Regions from separate parts of the Homo sapiens genome. Here regions 1, 2, 3 and 4 are each linked to region 5. Evidence: promoter capture Hi-C in 16 types of primary human blood cells and fetal thymus (Javierre and others, 2016). All regions are on one chromosome and are shown on one strand. The core of a region is centred on a gene start or on the middle of the fragment in contact, and the rest is flanking DNA. Distances in the headings are between cores, read along the strand shown.

Region 1 (4,398 bases), core at 1,474-3,973, 2.9 Mb before region 5:
AATAGTGTGTTTTGTTGTTGCTATCCATATCCCTTGTGGGCAGCAGATCAAATATTGGTTCCGTTCTTTTAGCTAGGCTCCTTGGAGTCTGCAGCATGTACATGCATGGTTCAGGGTTCAGCCAGAGATTTCCGTAGAATTTATATACAGAATGTATAGGGCTCCCTCCCCCTTTCTGGCTCTTCCTTTTCTAGGATTTCCCACTTTACCATGTCTGTTGTTCCAAACTCTCACTGAGGCCTGCCTTCAGGCTAAAAGATGTGAAGAAAAAACAAAAACCTCATTGGTTTTTTATGAATGTAGACTCCCCTTCTGTGTCTGCCTGTTTGGTTGTTCCCCAGTGCCTTCAGAAAGCTTTTGTTTTTATAAAATATTTTGTCCAGAGTTTATAGTTATTATTCAGTGGTTTGCCCTGACAGTGTCTACTTAGCCATACTAGAAGTATGCCATCTTGTGTGGTGGTACTTTTCCTTCCAAATTTTAAGTTTTGTACAATGAAATGTTTTCCCCATTCCATTAGAGATTCTTAAACTTGATTTTGTAATGTCCCAGTGTATCTCCATTGTGACTCAAAGGACTCTAAAGAAGTTAATGTAGGAAAAACACCCCAAAACATTTAGTTTTTTATTCCTGCTGTAACAAATTTCCACAAAACTTTGTGGCATAAAACATTATATTTTTAACCTTACAGTTCTGTAGGTTAAAAGTGACACAGGTCTCAGTGGGCTAAAATTAAAGTGTAGCCCGAGCTTCATTCCTTTTTGGAGGCTCTAGAGGTGAATGTCTTTTCTTGGCTTTTCCAGCTTCTAGAGGCTGCTCTTGGCCCCTTCTTTCATCTCCAAAGCCAGCAAAGGCAAGTCTAGTTCTTATATCACATCACTTCGACCCTCCTGGCATTCATCACATATCCTTCCTTGCCTCTTGGTAAGAACCCTGTGATTGATGACATTGGGCCCACCTAGATAATCCAGGATAATCTCCCTATTTTAAGGTCGGCTGATTAGCAGCCTTAATTCTCTTTTGTTGTGTAAACTAATACTCACAGGTTTCCAGGATTAGGATGTGGTTATCTTTGAGAGACCATTATTCTGCCTGCCATAGCCATAAATTAGCAGTTTAAGGAGAGAGAGAATGAACAAACTTTAGTTTATGCAGTGAGGTTCAGTAGGCCACTATTGCAAACTGCAGACTCGGATCTTTTTATTAGAGACTTGAACTCAGTTTCCATTTCAAAGTAATAAAAAGTTGACTTTCCTTTCTCTTTGGGCACTGTTTAGTACCTTAGTGCTCAGAACATTGAGTAATAAATTACAGGTCTGTTGCCCATGCTGTATAACCTATTGAGTGACAGTCAGTCTGATTTTCCAATGAGGAACCTTGTCACTAGTTTTTGAATCAGTTCAGGAAGCATGTTATAAATCAGTTGTAGGAAATGTCTTTCATTACAAAACATCAAAGACAGTTTACACACATTTTGGTTAGGGGGAAGGTGGCTTTATCTGTCGGATATTTTGCTAGGTGTTACCCCATTTTATGTGTGAGATATATGAAGATTGCTGGACAAATAAATGCCCAAGATCACACAGTAGTAAGGGCTGGGTTTATTCGCAAGTCCTGTTTTGTTTTGTTTTTAATCTACCTTTCTGAAGTTGCTCAAACAATTGAAGTTGCTAAGGGAAATCACTATGTATGGTGAAGATTTAAATTTAATAGGCACTCTAATAATAAAAGGTGTACCAGTGTAAGCAGACTAGGGAAATGATTTCACTTTGCTTAGGGAAAAGAGATGGAGGTTTAGGGGCTTTAAAGGGGTAGGAGATGGAGGTTTAGGGGCTTTAAAGGGGTAAGAGGAGGAGGTTAACCTTGGTCATGATGGATGAGTGGAAGGTGTAAGTTGAGATAATGCTGTAGGTATAGCTAGCTACATATACAAAGACACTGAAGTGCATGAGGTGAGACTGAACCCCGGGTCCACTGGATGGGCATTTCATTTCTATAAATTATTCTTGTCCTTAGAACAATTGGTTGTTGCTTATATCCATGTGGGATTTTAGATATCTAAAGAATGTTTTCTTTAATATATGGTCAAGATGGCTGGAATCATTAATGCTGTTATCTTAATCTGTAATGCACAGTGCCTGTAATACCTGGGCTCTTCATGCAGCTTTTCTATAATATAAAATTTAGCCAAATTACATTTGTTAATTCTCTCATAGTATGGTAAAAATTACTTACATTTTAACCTGAATTAACATTTTTAGGTAAATTACTGATGGAACTTTATTTGGAGGATGTTTGTAAAAGTCCTCCTATTTCTATCTGAAAATACAGCAAAACTTAAATTTTAGTGGTTAAGGCATGTACTGAAGTCAGGAAAATCTGTATGTGGCATTTCATTTATTTAGCTGTGTGAGCTAGGGAAAGTTTTTCCCCCTTCTTTGAGCCTTAATTTTCTCACCTGTAAAACAAGATAATAATACCTACTTGGTAGGCTTGCTGAGAGGAATAAATGGATTATAGTGTAGATTTGTAGTTTATAGCATGAGATCTGACATAGAGTAAGCATTTGTATTTATGATTATCCTTGAAATAGATTTCACAATTATTAACCCAGCATCAACTTTGTTAAAATAAAATGCACTGAAAAACTTTTGTTTTTCATGGAATTTTTTTTTTTTTTTTTTTGAGACAGAGTCTTACTCTGTTGCCCAGGCTGGAGTTCAGTGGCGTGATTTTGGCTCACTGCAACCTCTGCCTCCCGGGTTCAAGCGATTCTCCTGCCTCAGCCTCCCAAGTAGCTGGGATTAAAGGTGCGTGCCACCACACCCGGCTAATTTTTGTACTTTTAGTAGAGATGGGGTTTCACCATGTTGGCTAGGCTGGTCTCAAACTCCTGACCTCCAGTGATCCACCTGCCTCGGCTCTCAAAGTGCTGGGATTACAGGCATGAGCCACTGCACCCAGCCTCAAGGATTTTTTTTAAATGTAAAATTACCTAGTCTGAATGAATGTATTGCAGACCCTGACTTTTTTAGGAGGTTTCAGTTTTCTTGCTTGAGCTGGCAATAGGGGAGGCTGTAGGTAACAAGTCAGCAGATGTTGTGAACAGTGAGAGGAAGGCACGGAGGGACCTCAGACCACTTTGGATTCACTAGAGATGTTTCATGTGTGCACTGTGACTCTTGCACAGGCAAATAGATATCTTGGTGGATTTAATCTGTAAATATTAGGGATCATCTAAAAGGTATATTCCTTGCCTTAGTTGGCCTCTAATAAAGGAAAAAAGAAGGGTTTTTGAATTGCCTGACCTTAGTCTTGTCTTTCTGACTAATTAGATTACTGCTTCTGTCAGTTTTGTCTTACAGCTTCTTAGTCTCTTATTAACTTCTCTTAGCTGGATGCATTTATAATGCAAATGTCTGATAGAACTGAAAAGTGAGCTTCGTTGGATGGTAGTATTGTTTGAACAACAGAAGAAATTCAGAAAAAGAGTAGAGCCCATGAAAAGACAATTAAGGAATCCTATTGGGGAGAATATAAAACTTTAATTTTTGTCATTTTGAGCTATTGGTATTGCCAGTGACAGTAAAAGGGAAAGGCTGGTAGAAAGAGCACAGGGCCCTTAGATTGAAAGAGCCTGGGCTCAAAATCCAGGTCTGTCACTAATTGTGCGGTATGGGGCAAGTTACTGTCTTTGAGCCTGAGTTTCTCTAAATGTAAAATGGAAATAATGACTCACTACAGATTTTTTAGGAATCGACGAAAAAAAGTATGTAGAAGAGCTTAACACAGAGGCACTCAAGTTTACTTGACTCCAACGAAAAGGCAGTCACTGTTTTGGCCTGCTTAAATCTTTTCTTTTCCTTCTGAAACACTGAAAAAAAAATAAGCTAGAATTCAAACCCACTGTTAATTTTGAGCTGTATATTAGGTTATGATCTTATTTACTTAAAAAAGTTACTTGGTTGCATGCTTTTCTTCTTAAAAAAAGGAAGTTACTTGGATTTTCAATTGGACTCAATTGGAATTTCTTGAGGTATAGACATTTCAGAGTCTAATGAGAAGCTAGATTCTAGAGAAAAGACTAGACTGTACTCAAAGAAGGGGGTGGGTGGGAACTCAGCTTATTCTTTGAATCATTCCAGCCTAGCTAGGTTGTTTTTTCCAGTTTTAAGCCTGGTCCTGGAATGCCTCTTTATTTCAAAGTGAAACAAAATTGAAATGGCCCAGTAAGTAGTGTAAAGATGTTAATGAGAACTTTTAATGTTTTATTCCTTTATTGAAAGTGTCTGACGTAGACATTACAATGAATGTAAAATAGGTGATATTCTTTAAACACACCAAAAAAACAATTTTCAAAGCCATTTTCAGGCCACCTGTAACTTGATAGGGATGAAT
Region 2 (4,125 bases), core at 4-2,503, 2.9 Mb before region 5:
TCAGGATAACTTAAGTTTAGTAAATGCTAGCTGGCCCCTGTTGACCATTACTTTCTTTTCTAAGAAACGTATACTGTTCTTAACAACCTGAGCCTATAGAATTGAATTTGCTTAAAGAGTGTTGGCATTTTCTTCCTAATTCCTCACTTTCTTGGGTATACCCCTTTTTTTAGGAGGTAAATCATTTCCCTGGTGAAAAATCATTCTCCTTTATGGAGGCAACTGAAGTAAAACCTTTAGTCATCTATCATTACAGTATCTTTCTTAGCTAGTGCTCCTATCCCTTACTTATTCTTGCTTTAAATAGACACTGTCCCCCCAAAAAGTACAAATTTCATAATATTTTCCACAAGCTTCATCTGCTTTTTAGGATTCAGGTATTTTAAAATAAATTCATGCTATTCTTAGGTTTGTACTTCAGCCCATAACTTCTTTCACCTTTTGGGTACTCTAAAGAATATCTCAAGTGCAGATTTCCTTGTGAAATCCACTTGGGTTCTTTAGATGGCCCCTCTCTTCTGATTAGATGTTTTGAATTCTATAGTCATAACTTTGGTGTTGGGCTTCCTCCCCCCCACTCCTCCCCTCACCCGAGATGGAGTCTTGCTCTGTCACTTAGGCTATAGTGCAGTGGTGTGATCTCGACTCACTGCAACTTCTGCCTCCCAGGCTCAAGCGATTCTCCTGCCTCAGTCTCCCGAGCAGCTGGGACTATAAGAACGTGCCACCACCATGCCCAGCTAATTTTTGTATTTTTAGTAGAGACGGGGTTTTACCATGTTGGCCAGGGTGGTCTCGAACTCCTGACCTCAAGTGATCTGCCTGCCTTGGCCTCCCAAAGTGCTGGGATTACAGGCTTGAGCCACCACGCCCGGCCACTTTGGCGTTTAGAATCTTCTGCTTTGCTTCTTGTGAACTGTGGGATCTATGGTTCATATTAATCTAGTATTACTCTCCTGCCACACAAATTGATACCTGCTTTGTCTACTTTGTTATGTCACATTACATTAAATACTCAACAGTAATTTTTTTCACAAATTTTTTTGAGTGCCTGCTGTGTGTCAGGCATTATTTTAGGTTATGAATACAATTATGAACAAGATAAAGTTCTCATATATCTTCTAGTGATGGAGACAGATGACTAGTGTAATATGTGAGTGATAAAAAGGCTACACAATAAAATGTAGCAGGTGTTAGGGGATAGATAGGGAGTAAATTTAGTGAGGAGAGGCCGCTTAGAGGTGGTAACATTTGAGCCATGACCTGAATGAAGAGCTAGAGGGAACCATGTAAAGAGCTGAAGGAACAATGTTCCAGGGAGGGGAAAGAGGATGTATCAGGGTCCTGGAAGAAAAGTAAGGTAACAGTATGGCTGCAGTGAGGTGCTCAAGCAAGAAAGCAGTGGAAGGGGTCAGAGGAGATAAGGGCCCAGATAAGTAATCTGGGCTGAATCTTAAATATAATAAAAACTGTTGGAATGTTTTCAGTAGGGAATGGAATGAGCAATCTTAAAATACTGCCATAGTTGCTATGTGGAGATTAGAATTTAGTAGATATGTGGGACTAAGGATTTATGAGTGATTTTCAGCTTTTTGGCTTGAGCATCTCTGAGGTTCCTTTACCGAAAATAGAGAAGATTTGTGGTAGGGCAAGTTTGGGGAAGAAAAGTCAAATTTTGTTTTAGACATAGTAAGTTTGAGATGCCTGTTAAGACATCCATGGTATGATGCTGATAGGTAGATACGAACCTGGAATATAGGGAATAGGTTAGGGCTGGAAACACAAATTGGGGATTCATCAGTTACTAAGGGTAGTATTTAAAGTTATAAATCTGGATGACATTATCGGGGTGAAATTAAAATCTGTTATTTGTAATATGAGGTACTATAACATTGTATTTTAACAATAAGCAGGAACTAAGTACTCAGTTAAGCATTTTCAACAACATCTGATAATAATAGGGATGTTACTTATCAGTAATCATGAATAGTTTTTCGCTGAGATTTTCTTGACAGTGTTCTGGATTTGAGCCAAATACTTCAAAATTATTCGTGTCCGAATCTCTTTTTTTACTTACTACCTCTTATTTAAAAAGCAGACAAAAGTCTACTTAGGTTTCAATAATTGCAAGCATCCACCAATGCTGTATTATATAAAGCTTGTATTTGGACATAGCAATACTAGAATGTCTTGTCAGCATATGAAAACAAGAACTTTTCACTTTACTTACCCAATATCTTGGATATATAGGATAATGACAGAGACTGGGATAGCAATAACCATAATATAGTTATAGTTATTCTAAATTAACCAAAGCTGTCTAATTCTTTTTTATTGGTATTTTAATAATAAATATCTCTGCTCTTTGAAAGAGGTACTAATTGTGCGTCTCTGTAATGAAAAACCGAGAGGAATTAAACTGGTTCAATAGTAACTGATTCCTGAGTACCACTGCCAGGTCTTACCCTGGCCAAAATTAGTAAAAGACTGATGTCTATATGTGGTTCAAAACTGCTTTTGTATTATCGTTGGTGAATGACCACTGAAAATATTAAAGCAGTGGTAAGATAATACAGTTGACTCTTGAACACCATGGGCGTTAGGGACATTGATTGCTCATGCAGTTGAAGATCTGTGTGTAACTTTTGACTCCTCCAAAACTTTACTCATAGCCTGCAGTTGTCTGAAGGCCTTAACAAATAACATAGTCAGCACATATTTTGCATGTTGTCTGTATTATATACTGACTGTATTCTTACCATAATCTAGAGAAAAGAAAATGTTATTAAAATCATAATGAAAATATATTTACTCTTCATTAAGTGGATCATAGTACAAGTCTTATCATTTTCATGTTGTATAGGCTGAGGAAGAGGAGGGGTTGGCCTTGCTGTCTCAGAGGTGGCAGAGGCTGAAGAAAATCCATGTACAAGTGAACCCATGCAGTTCAAACCTGTGTTGTTCAGGGTCAGCTGTAGTCTCTTAATCTTGACATTACTAAATATTTTTGTGCTGAGATTGTTCTTATTTTCAGTGAATTTAAAGTACTGAAAAATTCTAAACTTGTTTTCAGGTTACTAATAGGTAGAAATTTTTTAGTATGGATTAGTTTATAACTCATTTTAAATCCAACTTTAATTCTTCATATTTAGAGCTAGGCTACAGTTCCAATGCGGTTGGTAGATGACTCTAGACAATAACATCACTTTTGGTTTTTTATACTAAAAGTAGGGACAGTGCTGGATATATCTCAGCAATAGTAAAAAGCACTAAACTTTTATAAAGTAATTTGTCTATGTAAAGTACTTTAAGCCATGAAAGTTTACAGAAAGGCCAAGTTTTCTAGAAAGCAAATAAGTTAAAATGGTACACATACGTATAGTGTTGGAATGACTGACGAACCATACTTTTTAAATTTTAGTGAAGATGTAATTATTAGATGGCATTTTAAGCATGAGATATCAGGAAAATCATTTTTTGTTTAGTAAGTGAAAAACACTAGTGTAAATTGTGGCTGTCAGGTGAGTGGATAGGGCTAGCTCACTGCCTCTTGAGTGTTCTGAGGCATGTTTACAGATGAAAGGGGGGGTTACATTTTTAGTAGATTAAACAAAATTATAGGCTTTATTGGAGGATTTTTGTAGCCTTTGTAGTATTTTAAGGTACACTGTGTGAATGGCGAGGAAGGGAGGTTTACAGCCAGACATACTGGATCACTGGGACTCCCGTTTTTCTATACAATGCCATGGGATTGTAATTTTATGGAACAAACTTTAGGAAACTCTAGACCAGATTATTTTTAAAATTACTTCCATATATAAAATTCTATAATCCTGTGAAGAACTCAGGAAGTACTTACGATTAATTCTCCCATTTATTGTTCCGGAAACTTCAGTTTTTATAATCTTCCTAAATTGATCCTTTATGTTGATAAACAGTGTCGATATTAAGGAGCTCATTAATTTTGGAAGATCCATATCTATCCAAACTGGTAAGAGGCTTTAAGATAACAAATGCTCAGCTTTCAGGAGACGTCTAAAATGAAACTTTTAAATCATATTCCATTCTGATATTTGATCAAGAGAAAAGTTTTAGGCAGAAAAGAAGAGGTAGCTGAGCTTAAAC
Region 3 (4,460 bases), core at 239-2,738, 2.4 Mb before region 5:
TGTCCCAAGGTCGTCAGCCACAGCTCCAAGTTTCTTAGCATCAGCTTTTTCTGAACAAAATAGTGCATCCTGCTGGAATCACTACTGTAAACTGAGTATAAAGGAAAATAAACCCTCTTTTTCTTATCCACTATGTTCCCTACTCCCGTGCTTTTCCCAGTGCTCCAGGTTAGTAGAGGCAAAAGAATTCCCCACTGATGAGGTACTACATCCTACACAATTTGTTCCACACATTTTAATTTCATTAAGAGAAAACAAAGATGTTTAAACAGTGAGCACTAAATGGATTAGAGTGGCAGTAGTAAATTTCCTTTGTGCCTTTCTCTTAGAATTTAGAAAGCTTTAGTTGCAATCCCATTCAAAGCAATATGGGAGAGGCTTCCACAATGCCTGGCACAGAGTACGTGTGGAGGAAATGCTTATCATTTTAGATGCTTATTATTTTAAATGTTTAAATGTTTATTATTCTGAATCTGAATGGATGAGTCAAGTTGAACCAGGAAATAAACCATAGCAAACCACATATTCAAACCCAGATAAGTTCAGTGGTTAACTGCCCTGACTCTAAGCTCCCTTCACACTAAGGCTGCTCTATGGTAATATGATTCAGAAGAAATTACTTCCATTCTCATTTCACTTCTCTGTAACTGTTTGTAACAAATTGCTTGTGTCTCTGGTCCTTGGTTCCTTCCTTTGGTGGGAAAAATATTAGCACAATGACACAATATAATTCCCAGACTAGATAGCTAATACATTTTCTAACTTTTTATTTAGAAACAATTACAGATTTACATGAAGTTTCAAATGATGTGCCAGGATGTCCTATGTCACTTTCACATCAGTTCCCCCAATGGTAATATTACCGTATATATGAAACATTTTTCAGAGCGTGTGCCAGGCATCATGTTAAGCGCTTTTTCTTTTTTTTTCTTTTTTTCTTTTTTTTTTTTTTTTCTGAGATGGAATCTCGCTCCATCACCCAGGCTGGAGTGCAGTTGCACAATCTCAGCTTGCTGCAATCTCAGCTTGCTGCAACCTCCGCCTCCCGGGTACAAGCGATTCTCCTGTCTCAGCCTCCTGAGTAGCTGGGACTACAGGCGCCCACCACCATACTCAGCTAATTTTTGTATATATATATATATATTTTTTTTTTTTTTTTGTACAGACGGGGTTTCACCATGTTGGCCAGGCTGGTCTCAAACTCCTGACCTCAAGTGATCCACCTGCCTCGGCCCCCCAAAGTGGTGGGATTACAGGTGTGAGCCACCGCGTCCAGCCTGTTAAGCACTTTTATGTGCTTTCTGATTATTTAAAACAGCCCTGTGAAGTAGAAATTGATATTACCATTTTAAAAATAAAGGAAATCGAAGCTCAGAAAGGTTGGGTATTTTGACAAAGATCAAAAAGCAAATGACCTGGCACAGTGGCTCACACCTGTAATCCCAGCACTTTGGGAGGCCGAGGTGGGTGGATCATTTGAGGCCAGGGGTTCGAGACCAGCCTGGCCAACATGGTGAAACCCTGTCTCTACTAAAAATACAAAAGTTAGCTGGGTGTGGTGGCACATGCCTGTAATCCCAGCTACTCGGGAGGCTGAGGCATTAGAATCTCTTGAACCCAGGAGGTGGAGTTTGCAGTGAGCCGAGATCACACCACTGCACTCTGGCCTGGGTGACAGAGTGAGACTGTCTCAAAAAAAAAAAAAAAAAAGAAAAGAAAGAAAGCAAGCAAGCAAGCAAATAGGGGAATTAGTATTCAAACACTGGAATCCTGATTCTAAATAATGGCAATAGCGTTTGCGTATCCTCACATTCATAGCTTTTCTGTCAAAATGGTCCTTCGTCAACTTCTTTCGCATTAAGAGAACTTCTAGTCTTTCAACATGTATGGTCTTGGTATAATCTCTAATTCCATCTAAGTTATCACTGTTCCCTGAGGATTTTGTCATTGAAACATTTTAGGAGTCACCTCTTCACTCCGTTTCTCACTCAATATCCTGACCAAGATATTAACCACTTCAAAACCATACTAATAACTTTTTAACTAGCCTGTTTCAATTATTCTGGCCAAGTATACAAAAATTATCTTTCTCATATAATATTTTGTTCATCACAATTCTGTGAAATTCCCAAGCAAGTGCCTTAACAGTGTCCTCTCACCAGCTGCCCTTGGCTTGAATGGCTGCAGTTTGCCACCATTTCATTATTCGGACAAATCATCCAGGTAGACAATCTTGAACTCAGGTGCCAACTCACTTCTCCCTCAAACGATGTTCTTGGTTTTTTAGGAGGTTTTGTTGTTGCTGCTGCTTGTAGGTATGTGGCAGGTGTTGGGAGGGGTGGAATTCTACATATTTTTTTTTTTTTGAGATGCGGTCTCACTTTGTTGCCCAGGCTAGTCTTGAACTGCTGGGTTCAAGCAATCCTCCCACTTTGGCCTCCCAAAGAGCTGGGATTACAGGTGTGAACCACCATGGCCGGCCGGAATTCTACATCTTTGTAACATTTATTCTTTTCTGAATTTTCCAATTACAAAAATACATGTTTTTGGAGTGCCCAGAAAAGTATAAAGAAAAAACTAAAATCTCCAAAAATTTAGAGATAATACCCCCAAACAGTTTATGTTTACCTATTTTTTAAAGCTTTCAAAGTCCTATATTTAAAAAAGTTTAGCCTAGGCCGGGCGCGGTGGCTCACGCCTGTAATCCCAGCACTTTGGGAGGCTGAGGTGGGCGGATCACGAGGTCAGGAGATTGAAACCACCCTGGCTAACATGGTGAAACCCCGTCTCTACTAAAAATGCAAAAAATTAGCCGGGCGTGATGGCGGGCGCCTGTAGTCCCAGCTACTCGGGAGGCTGAGGCAGGAGAATGGCATTAATCTGGGAGGCGAAGCTTGCAGTGAGCCAAGATCGCGCCACTGCACTCCAGCCTGGGCGACAGTGGGAGACTCCGTCTTGGGGGGAAAAAAGAAAAAAAAGTTTAGCCGGGCGTGGTGGCTCATGCCTGTAATCCCAGCACTTTGGGAGGCTGAGGAGGGTGGATCACCTAAGGTCAGGAGCTTGAGACCATCCTGACCAACATGGTGAAACCCTGTCTCTACTAAATAATAATAAAAAATTAGCCAGGTGTGGTGGCACATGCCTGTAATCTCAGCTACTTGGGAGGCTGAGGCAGGAGAATCTCTTGAACCTGGGAGGCAGAGGTTGCAGTGAGCCGAGATTGTGCCATTGCACTCCAGCCTGGGCAAAAAGAGCAAAACTCCGTTTAAAACAACAACAACAACAAAAAAAAACAAAAAACCCCAAAACTTTAAATAGCTTTATTGAGATATAAATTATAGACTATAAAATTTACCCATTTAGCTGGGCGAGGTGGCCAATGCCTGTAATCCCAACACTTTGGGAGACCAAGGCAGGCGGATTGCTTGAGCCCAAGAGTTCAAGACCAGCCTAGGCAACATGGTGCGGCCCCATCTCTACAAAAAATGCAAAAATTAGCTGGGTGTGGTGATGCACGCCTGTAGTCCCAGCTGCTCAGGAGGCTGAGGTGGGAGGATGGATTGAACCCAGGAGGTGGAGGCTGTAGTGAGTTGTGCTCGTGCCACTGCACTCCAGCCTGGGTGGCAGAATAAGACCCTGCCTCAAAAAAATAATAATAATAAATAAAATAAAATGTACCTATTTAAAATGTACAATTCTTTAGTTTTTAGAATATTCAGTTATGTGACCATCACATCTAATTTGAGAACATTTTCATAACCCCAGAAAGAAACACGTATCATTAACAGTCACTCCTGATTGCCACTACAACAACCCCGGTTCTGCGTAACCAGTAATGTATTTTCTGTCCCTATGGATTTCTCTATTCTGGACATTTCACATAAATGGATTTGTATAATACGTGGTCTTTTGTGACTGGCTTCTTTCACTTAGCTGAATGTGTTTAATATTCATCTATGTTTTAGCATGTATCAGTATTTCATTCTTTTTTTAAAAAATTCTTTTTATTAATGTCTATTGTCCGTTGTATGGATATATCACATTTTATTTATCCCTTCACCAGCTGATGGACATTTGGATTATTTCCTTGTTTTAGTTATTATGAATAAGGCTGCTATAAACATTCATCTACAAGTTTTTGTGTGGATATATGCTTTCAATTCTCTTGGTTATATCCCGAGAAGTGGAATTGCTGGGTTGTGTGTTTTTTTCATTTGTTTGTTGTGTTTTATTTGAAACAGGGTCTCACTCTGTTGCCTAAGTTGAAGTGCAGTGGCACAATCAAGGCTCACTGCAGCCTTGGCTGGGTTATCTGTTAACTCCATCTTTTTTTTTTTTTTTTTTTTTTGAGATGGAGTCTTGCACTGTCGCCCAGGCTGGAGTGCAGTGGTGTGATCTTGGCTCACTGCAACCTCCACCTCCCAGGTTCACGTCATTCTCCTGCCTCAGCCTCCCGAGTA
Region 4 (4,416 bases), core at 403-2,902, 2.1 Mb before region 5:
GGGCTTAGTTTATGATAGAAAAAAATCATTTAACTGACTTACCCTAAGTCATTCAAAACTTTCTAAGTGAAGGACTTTTAGAAGACAGTTTTGCAAAATTCTTTGTCATCTTCTAGTAGGTTTATTTTAGTTATTGATTCTGAGTTTGAGATGGTTTCTCCAGGAGTGACTCAGGTAATCATTCTGAGATTGGATGGTTTTTCTTTTATACACCTAACAAGCATCTTGAAGATGAATTAACAGTATGTTGCACAATTTTGCAAAAGCAGACACCAACTATTTCAGTACATTTTTCTGTATACCTCAGTATTTAAAAAAAAGTTTGTTTTATACAGTCGTTAACATATAAAAGTGCATTTACGATGTAATGAATTCTGAAGTAGATCACTTGTGTTAGTAAAGAAAAAGAAGTAGACGCTGCTTTACTTCAAATTCTGTTTAAACCTTGGAAGTAATTTTACCTAGATTTCAGATTTGAAACTTGGTATTTTATGTGAAAGATTTTTTTTGTCTTTAAAATTTTTTACATGATAAAATTCCATTTATAATGTATTACACATTTTATTTTTCTACCTATTAGCAGTTTTTTTAAATTTTTTTATTTTTTGAGACGGAGTCTTGCTCTGTTGCAGTGGCTCGATCTCGGCTCATTGCAGTCTCTGCCTCCCGGGTTCAAGCAATTCTCCTGCCTCAGTCTCCAGAGTAGCTGGAACTACAGGCATGCACTACCATGCCCAGCTAATTTTGAATTTTTTGTAGAGACGGGATTTTGCCAGGCTGGCCTCGAACTTCTGACCTCAGGTGATCCGCCTGCCTTGGCCTCCCAAAGTGCTGGGATTACAGGCGTGAGCCACCGCACCTGACCCCTATTAGCAGTTTTGTAGAAAAGTTTGAAGAAGAAAGTTTATAAAATGCTAAAATAAATTTCAAATATATTCTTAATGATCAGAGAGAGACGAAAATAAACCAAAATCCTTATGTTGAGAGTGGCCGATAACAATAAATCAACAAAGAAAATTAAGCTCTCTGAGGGATCGAGGGACGTATGGTGTTAACATCAGCTAGTGCATCTGCATAGAAGCAGCACGGGGCGGGGGGGAAATTAGAGAATACTCCTCTGGATGGATATTTAGCACATTTTTAGGTGTTTCCAGTCGGCTCTTCATGTTTCCCAGTGGCTATACAAAACGCCTGGGGCTCTAAAGACATGAATGTAATCTTTAATCATATATTACTCCATTCCTTAGTTTTTAGGTAACTCTCAATTGCTCACAGAATAAAAGTCAGATTTTTTTTTTTCAGTAAGACATACCATCTCTTCCATGATGTGCCTTCCTCTTGTAACACCTGTTAGTCTGTACACATCCATACTTTCTTCCCTGAGAAAGAAAAACCCTGCTCATACCCAAGGTTCTTTGTTCCTCTATTTTTGCTGGCTAAGGTAAAATTCCTTATGACTCAGACCATGTTCCATGAGATGTTTTCCTGCTGGTTTTCAATCACTGGCTGCATTGTTTTAACATATAAATACACCAGAGTCTTTGATTTTAAAAACAAATGAGCAGACATGTACTTCTTTGACCATAACTCTTTCTAGTATGTGTCTCTCCCTGTCCTTCATTTCCTTTGCATTCAGACTTTTTGGAAAAATAGTCCATATTCACTGTTTTTCCAGTTACTCACCTTTTATTCTCTCCTTAGTCCACGGTACTTTTATCCTCTCACTACTTATTGCTAACTTAATCATTTCCAGTTTTTATCTTACTTGACCTCCCCCTGGCTCTTGACAGTACCGACAGTTTCTCTAAAAAAAACCCTCAATTCTTCTGGCTTCTATAACAGCATTGTCTTCTAATTTTCTTATTTGCTCCATTTATTGTCTTATTTGTGGCATTTTCCTCAAATGCTCATGTTTCTGAGATTCTGATTTGGTTTCATTTATCTCACTCTGTGAACTTTCTTTGTTCATTTCATTGTTTTGAGGTTTTCTCTTTATCTTCCTTGCTCTCTGCAGGTATTGCTACACCCCCAAGTCTGTTTTAATTCACATTTTACCGTCAGTCAAGAGCACATACTCAAACAACTTATTCACTATTTAGATTTGAATATTGCACAGATATGATATTCTAAACTCAAAATATCTCAAAATTTTTACTACCCATGCCTACTCTTCTTCCCATATTTTTTATTTTTATTTTTGAGATGGGGTCTTGCTCAGTTGCTCAACCTGGAGTGCAGTGGCATGCACGTTCTTGGCTCACTGCAGCCGTGACCTCCTGGGCTCAAGTGATCCTCCTGAATAGCTAGGACTATAGGTGCATGCTACCATGCCCAGCTAATTTTTTACGTACATATGGGGGTGCCGCTGTGTTGCCCAGGCTGATCTCGAACTCCTGACCTTGCGTGATCCTCCTGCCTTGGCCTCCTAAAGTGCTGGGATTACAGGCCTGAGCCATTGCACTTGGCTTTATTTTTATTTTTTAGTGGCATCATGATTACTCACACCAGAAACAATATGCATATCTAATAATTAAAATCTGTGTTTCTATTTTTGACATAATCCCTTTGTCCACTTCAATGTGTTTCTACTTCCAAATTCATTTATTTTTAAAATTCATTCAATTATGGATCTAATTTGATTAGATTTGAGTATCTGCTACATGTCAGGTATGATGAATAAATATTGGAACTACAGTTGTGAGTGAAACACAAGCCATGTTTTCATGGGGCAGTTCTAACAAGAGAGATAGATACTAATAAAATAATCAGAAGAATAAAGTGTACCCCTGAAGAGCTATATAGTGCTACGAGAATGTAAAATAAGGGTCTTCGATCAGGCTGTCACAGTTGAACTAAGATTCCAACAATGAGTAAAAGTTATCCTGGTGAAGAAGAAAGGAAAATGCATGTTCAAATATCCGGTAGCAGGAGGGACTGTGAAACATTTACCATACTGAAAGAGGTCGGCGTGGCAGTGGTGAAAATAGTCAAGATGAATGTAGTGCTGGTTTAGTAGGTCAAGTTAGGAGTTTTGTTTTTATCCTGAGCCACTAGGGTTTTTAAGTGAGGGGAGGAGCAGTAAAGATGGAGGGAATCGAATAACATCACATTTGCATTTAAAAATAATTCTGGTAGCAATGTAAAATTATACTAGAGGGGAGAAAGAGATGAATTAGGCGGCTGCAGCAGTACTGGCAAGTGGTGACCCCTTGGACTGAGGTCATGGTATTGGAGGTGATGAAAAGTTAGGTTGAATCTGTGAGACTTGGTGGTCTCTATGTGCACTGAGAGAAAAGGGTATGAATGTCTGAGATTTCTGCTTATATAACTGGGGAAATGGTGGTGCTATTTGAGAAACGGTGGATGTCTGGATGAGGACGAAATGCATCTTATTTGGGGGTGTGTGAGAGAGATGGAGGAGGAGGACGTATGGTAGATATGTTTAGGTCTTTCAGGATATTAACATGAAGGTGGATTTGGTTAAATGGGTGTGTTACTTAAGAAAAGGTCTGGGCTTTGGATAATTTCCTTACTTCAGGTCCTTTTATATTTACTAGTCAGCAGACATCTCCTTTTCTTTTCTTTCTTTCTTTCATTTTTTTCTTGAGATGGAGTCTCGCTTTGTCACCCATGGTGGTGTGCAGTGGCGCTATCTCGGCTCACTGCAACCTCTGCCTCCCGAGTTCAAGCGATGCTCCTGCCTCAGCCTCCCAAGTAGCTGGGATTACAGGCGTGCACCACCATGCCTGGCTAATTTTTGTATTTTTAGTAGAGACGGGGTTTTGCCCTGTGGGCCAGGCTGGTCTCCCTGACCTCAAGTGATCCACCTGCCTCTGCCTCCCAAAGTGTTGGGATGACAGGCGTGAGCCACTGTGCCCAGCCTCCTTTATTGTCAGCTCTTTACCCTGTCCTCCACACTGCTGCTGGAACTACGCTTTGGAAAAAGGAGGCTGTTACTGTTAGTCCCTTGATTGAAGAACTCTAAATGTTTTCTTACTATGTACTTGAAAAATCCAAAATCCACTGCCTAACTCTCCAGCCTCAGTGTCTATTCTTTTTCTTCTGTCCATAACTTTGGCTATATGAAACCATTTTCCCAAACACTCCAGGCCACTGCAATGCTTTGCACAGGCTCTGCTTAGAATATTGTCCTCCCTCACGTCTGTCAGGCAGCCTCTTATTTCAAGAATCACTTCCTCTTGAGAAGTCGTTGATACTCTACCAGTCCAAGTTGGTCAGAGCCTTCATGCCACTGTTGAAGCTTGTGCTTACCTGTAATAACAGTACTTTCACATTAGATAGTAGTTAGGCTTACATATTCTCCCCTCCCAAACTATACTATGAACTCTGAGTATATACCTGTTAATGTTTGTAGTAACAAGTTCTGGCATCATAAAATGATTGCCCAGTAAGTGT
Region 5 (3,970 bases), core at 786-3,285:
GAAAACCTGTCATGAAAATCAACAAGAGAATGCATTTCTTTTAAAGTAACGCATTCACAGCACAATCTTAAGTGCATTCTGAAGTCCTGCTGTCTTTTTTTTTTTTTTTTTTTTTTTGCGACGGAGTCTCACTCTGTCGCCAGGCTGGAGCGCAGTGGCGCCATCTCGGCTCACTGCAACCTCAGCCTCCCAGGTTCAAGGGATTCTCCTGTCTCAGCCTCCCGAGTAGCTGGGATTACAGACACCTGCCATCACGCCCAACTAATTTTTGTATTTTTAGTAGAGACGGGGTTTCACCTTGTTGGTCAGGCTGGTCTCGATCTCTTGACCTCGTGATCCGCCCGCCTCGGCATCCCAAAGTGCTGGGATTACAGGCGTGAGCCACCGCACCCGGCCTCTGTCTTAAACATCATAAAAACATAAGAACCCAAAAAAGATGGAGGGGAGTGCGCCCTTAGCTGCCCCAAACTGGCGTGGTGGGAGGCAGGGCAATTGGTCTAGTTTTCTGAGCCGTAGGATTAGGGCTCTGGGTGAGGCCAGAGTCCCTAAAGTTGTACCCATATCTGCGTGTTTGTATTTCCTGTTTGTAATTCCTCCTGTTTGTACTTTTTGTCTCTTATACGGTACACTTAAAGTTTCTCCACAAGGTGTTTCAGCATAAAGTACTCAAAAACTAAAAACGTTTAATTTCATTATTAGGTTAAGTGTGTAAAAAATGCCCCATCAAGGTTCTTGTACAAACTCCCATTATTCTCCCAGACTCCGAAGTGGCACTCCAGAATAATTTTACGTGGGTTAGCATCTTTTATAAAACGGGCAGGCAGAGCGGCTTATGAAATTAACCTTGGAAACCACGCGGCCACTCTTTCGGGAAATGCCTCCTATTTATGTTTACATGGGCCAGCAAGAGAATCCAAGGTTGGAAAGGTCATTCCTCACTACAGAGGCTCATCGCAATCACAGTTCCGTCTCCAAATTCGAGTTTTGGGTGTGAAGAGTTTATAAAGTCCAGCCGCTGTCCTCGCAGTGTTTGGGGTTAGCGGAGGGAGAGCTTGTTTGCGACCAAACTTGCCGCGCGGGGCGGCCGCTTGCAGGAACACTGCGGCCTTGTGCGCTCGGCGGTCTGAGCTCCTGCGAGGCCGAGAACGACGCCTAGCGCCCAGCGGCCTCCGCGAACAAAAAGCGACCGGTCGGAAGGTGCTGGCCCAGCCGCCCCTGGCGCTCGAGCCCGAATCCGGCCACAGACCATGAAGGGACGCCCGGCACCACGTGCGCGGGGATCCGCGGACGGGACGCTCCCCGGCACCTCCGGGGCTGGGCCGGCACCGCACGGTCCCACCCAGACAGTAGCTGCCCCGGGCCCCCAAAACAGCCGCTCCTAGCTCCTCCCTCCCAGCTCTGCGGTGGCCCAAGCCGCCCTCCGCGCGCTTGACCCAGAACAGTACGGAGTTCTGCACGAGCCGGGGGTGGGGCCTGTCTCAGCGCGCGGCGGTGGGGCGGGGCTTGGACACGGGCCCGGCTCAACTTGAGGGAGGCGGGGCTCGAGGCTCAGAGGAGTTGGAGCCCGCTCTGCGCGCTGCGGGACGGGGCACGGCGGAGCAGGGTTGGGTCCGCCTCGAGCGGGGAGGGTGATGCTGCACCACAGGGGCGGGGCTGGAGGTAAAGCGCGGAGCGGAGAGGGACCAGGCTCGGCACTGATTTGTGTTCAGGGCTAGCCCAGAGGGGCGGGGCCAGGTACGGGGCGCAGCCGGGAGCGGGAGGGGCGGTGCAGGACGGGGCCGGGCACGGCGCGGGAAGAGGCCAGGAGCAGCAACGGGTGCGGGGCGGGGCCGGGAGCGTCAAGGGGCGGGGAAGAGGGGGGAATGGGCGGGGCCGAGCTCTGCGAGGGGCGAGGTGGGGAATGCAGAGCGGGGCCGGACGCGGGAGCAGGGAGCTGGGCGGGGAGCGGGGCGGGGAGCTGGGCTGGGCTCGGCACGGGGCGGGGCGGAGGGTGGGGAGCGGAAAGCAGGACGCACGGCTCCCGCGGCCCGCTGGCTGCCCTTCCCGCCAGCGCAGGTGTGGGACGGGCGGCGGACTAGGCACAGAGCTGCGGGAGCAGGCACAGGGAGTGTGGAGCCTGGCGGCGGGACGGCGGGATCCGGTGGGAGCCGGAGTCCCGCCGAGGGGGGCTGGAGGTGGAGGGGCCCGGCGAGGCCGCGATGAAGCCGAGCGGCGAGGACCAGGCGGCGCTGGCGGCCGGCCCCTGGGAGGAGTGCTTCCAGGCGGCCGTGCAGCTGGCGCTGCGGGCAGGACAGGTGAGCGCCACGGCTGGGCTCGGAAGTCCGGGCGGAGCAGAAGCGCGTGGGCCTTGGGAGCCGCCTGGAGTGGCGGGGTCCTGGCGCGCAGCCGGCGGGCGCCCAGGGTCCGCACCCGAGGGCGCGGGGCGCGGAGCGGTGAAAGGAGCCTTTGTGCTGGTGTCCTGGACACACCTCCCGCGCCCTTCTCCAACTCCCGGAGCCCTGGCGGCGAGCCCCTCTGCTTTGGAGTTCAGCGGCTAACGTGACCTTTGCGTTTGAGTGAGTGGTCAGAATGTAGAAATCTCTCCAGGGGTAGCGTACGGGGCTGTTGATTTTTAAGGACCTATGAACGGATTCAGCTCGCGGTAGGAAGCCCGGGGCTAAGCCCCAGCCGCGTGGGGATCTGGCTGGGCTGCCGTTTGATTGTCCTGGCTGCAGCATCCTCAACCCAAACTTACTCTGACCCACACCCTGAAAGTGGCTCAGCTCCGCGACGGCCACGGACTCAGAGTTCAGGAGGAACTTGTTACACTGCCCGGAAGGATGAAAACCGAGCCGCAGAGCTACCGAAAACCAGCGAGCAGAGTTTAAAATGGAGTGCAGTTCCTCTCTTCTCTTTTTCATTTTTGTGATTGTTCCTTCCACTTTCCTCAGTACCTTTAGCAGTGCCTGACACACCGACGGTAGTGGTAGGCAAGCGAGTGTTGGTTCTCCCAGGACTGTAAGATGGCTTACTCCATGTTTGTCTCTTAGGATGTGATTGTGGGCCGGGCGCAGTGGCTCACGCCTGTAATCCCAGCACTTTGGGAGGCCGAGGCGGGTGGACCACTTGAGGTCAGGAGTTCGAGACCAGCCTGACCAACATGGTGAAACCCCGTCTCTACTGAAAATACAAAATTAGCTGGGCATGGTGGCGCGTGCCTTAGTTCCAGCTATTTGGGAGGCTGAGGCAGGAGAATCACTTGAACCTGGGAGGCGAAGGTTGCAGTGAGCTGAGATCGCGCCATTGCACACCAGCCTGGGCAACAAGAACAAAACTCCGTCTCAAAAAAAAAAAAAAAAAGTGATTGTTTTCGGGGATTTTAGAGACAGGAGGTGTGCTGAGAGCAGATTGGCCTTTTATATTCAAACATTTGTTTTCTTTTTTGAGGTCTGACAGTCCGAAAATGCTCTACCAGTTTCCCTAGATGTTGAAATCGGACTGTTATCAATCTTAAATTTGAAGTGAGTCGTCATAAAGTGGATAGTGCTTTACCTTGGTGCAAATCCTCTAATCCTGTTTAAAAATTAATCTGCAATACTAAGTAGACTCATTTTTTGTTGAAGGGCCTTCCTTCCCTTTGTAGTTTGAAGAACCCAAGCCTCAGACCGTAAAGAATGAATGAATTTAAGAGTGTTGCGAAACTCCACCCTTTGACCTTTCCCTCCTGTAGGAAAAGGAGGACCCTAAACCTTCCTGCAAGGCAGATGAAGCTTGTAGCTTCAGTGCAAGCGTTCTTCCTGGAAAGCAGAGCTGCTGTGTGCATGGAACACGGGTTCTCCTTCCATCCTTCCCTGCCTCCCAGCTTTCCTTCCAGAGCAAGCATCAGCCAGATATTTAGGAACTTTTAGGTTCTACTGTAAAACTTTTCTTCCTTGAGGCAGTGAAAAGCCAGCTTAGGATTCAGACATTGCTGTGTAAACCCTGGCGAGCT

Evidence for each region. The method cuts DNA at HindIII sites, captures the fragments that hold promoters and counts their contacts. A CHiCAGO score of 5 or more calls a contact.
Region 1: a contact is called between a fragment that was not itself captured here and the fragment with the promoter of IMPA2 in region 5, in 1 of 17 cell types (neutrophils). The highest score is 8.4, in neutrophils.
Region 2: a contact is called between a fragment that was not itself captured here and the fragment with the promoter of IMPA2 in region 5, in 1 of 17 cell types (neutrophils). The highest score is 7.0, in neutrophils.
Region 3: a contact is called between a fragment that was not itself captured here and the fragment with the promoter of IMPA2 in region 5, in 2 of 17 cell types (total CD8 T cells and neutrophils). The highest score is 8.3, in total CD8 T cells.
Region 4: a fragment that was not itself captured here is called in contact with the fragment with the promoter of IMPA2 in region 5 in 2 of 17 cell types (naive CD8 T cells and total CD4 T cells); the score reaches 6.5 in naive CD8 T cells.

The regions. Positions count from the first base shown.
Region 1 is chr18:9,106,024-9,110,421 of GRCh38, forward strand. The region is part of intron 1 of NDUFV2 (NADH:ubiquinone oxidoreductase core subunit V2); the gene reads left to right. Among named protein-coding and RNA genes, the nearest start is that of NDUFV2, 5.5 kb to the left of the region's middle. The HindIII fragment of the contact is 4,743 bases long and covers 353-4,398 here.
Region 2 is chr18:9,128,364-9,132,488 of GRCh38, forward strand. All of the region lies in intron 7 of NDUFV2 (NADH:ubiquinone oxidoreductase core subunit V2), which reads left to right. The region is part of intron 2 of NDUFV2-AS1 (NDUFV2 antisense RNA 1); the gene reads right to left. Among named protein-coding and RNA genes, the nearest start is that of NDUFV2-AS1, 6.3 kb to the right of the region's middle. The HindIII fragment of the contact is 1,805 bases long and covers 352-2,156 here.
Region 3 is chr18:9,619,236-9,623,695 of GRCh38, forward strand. PPP4R1-AS1 (PPP4R1 antisense RNA 1) reads left to right here. Exons shown (of 3, transcript NR_110773.1): 3 at 1-128. Among named protein-coding and RNA genes, the nearest start is that of PPP4R1-AS1, 6.7 kb to the left of the region's middle. The HindIII fragment of the contact is 2,301 bases long and covers 339-2,639 here.
Region 4 is chr18:9,916,716-9,921,131 of GRCh38, forward strand. All of the region lies in intron 1 of VAPA (VAMP associated protein A), which reads left to right. Among named protein-coding and RNA genes, the nearest start is that of VAPA, 4.9 kb to the left of the region's middle. The HindIII fragment of the contact is 5,213 bases long and covers 1-4,259 here.
Region 5 is chr18:11,979,472-11,983,441 of GRCh38, forward strand. IMPA2 (inositol monophosphatase 2) reads left to right here and starts at 2,036. Exons shown (of 8, transcript NM_014214.3): 1 at 2,036-2,294. The coding sequence starts at 2,199. RefSeq lists silencers at 959-1,253, 1,094-2,573. The HindIII fragment of the contact is 12,350 bases long and covers 1-3,747 here.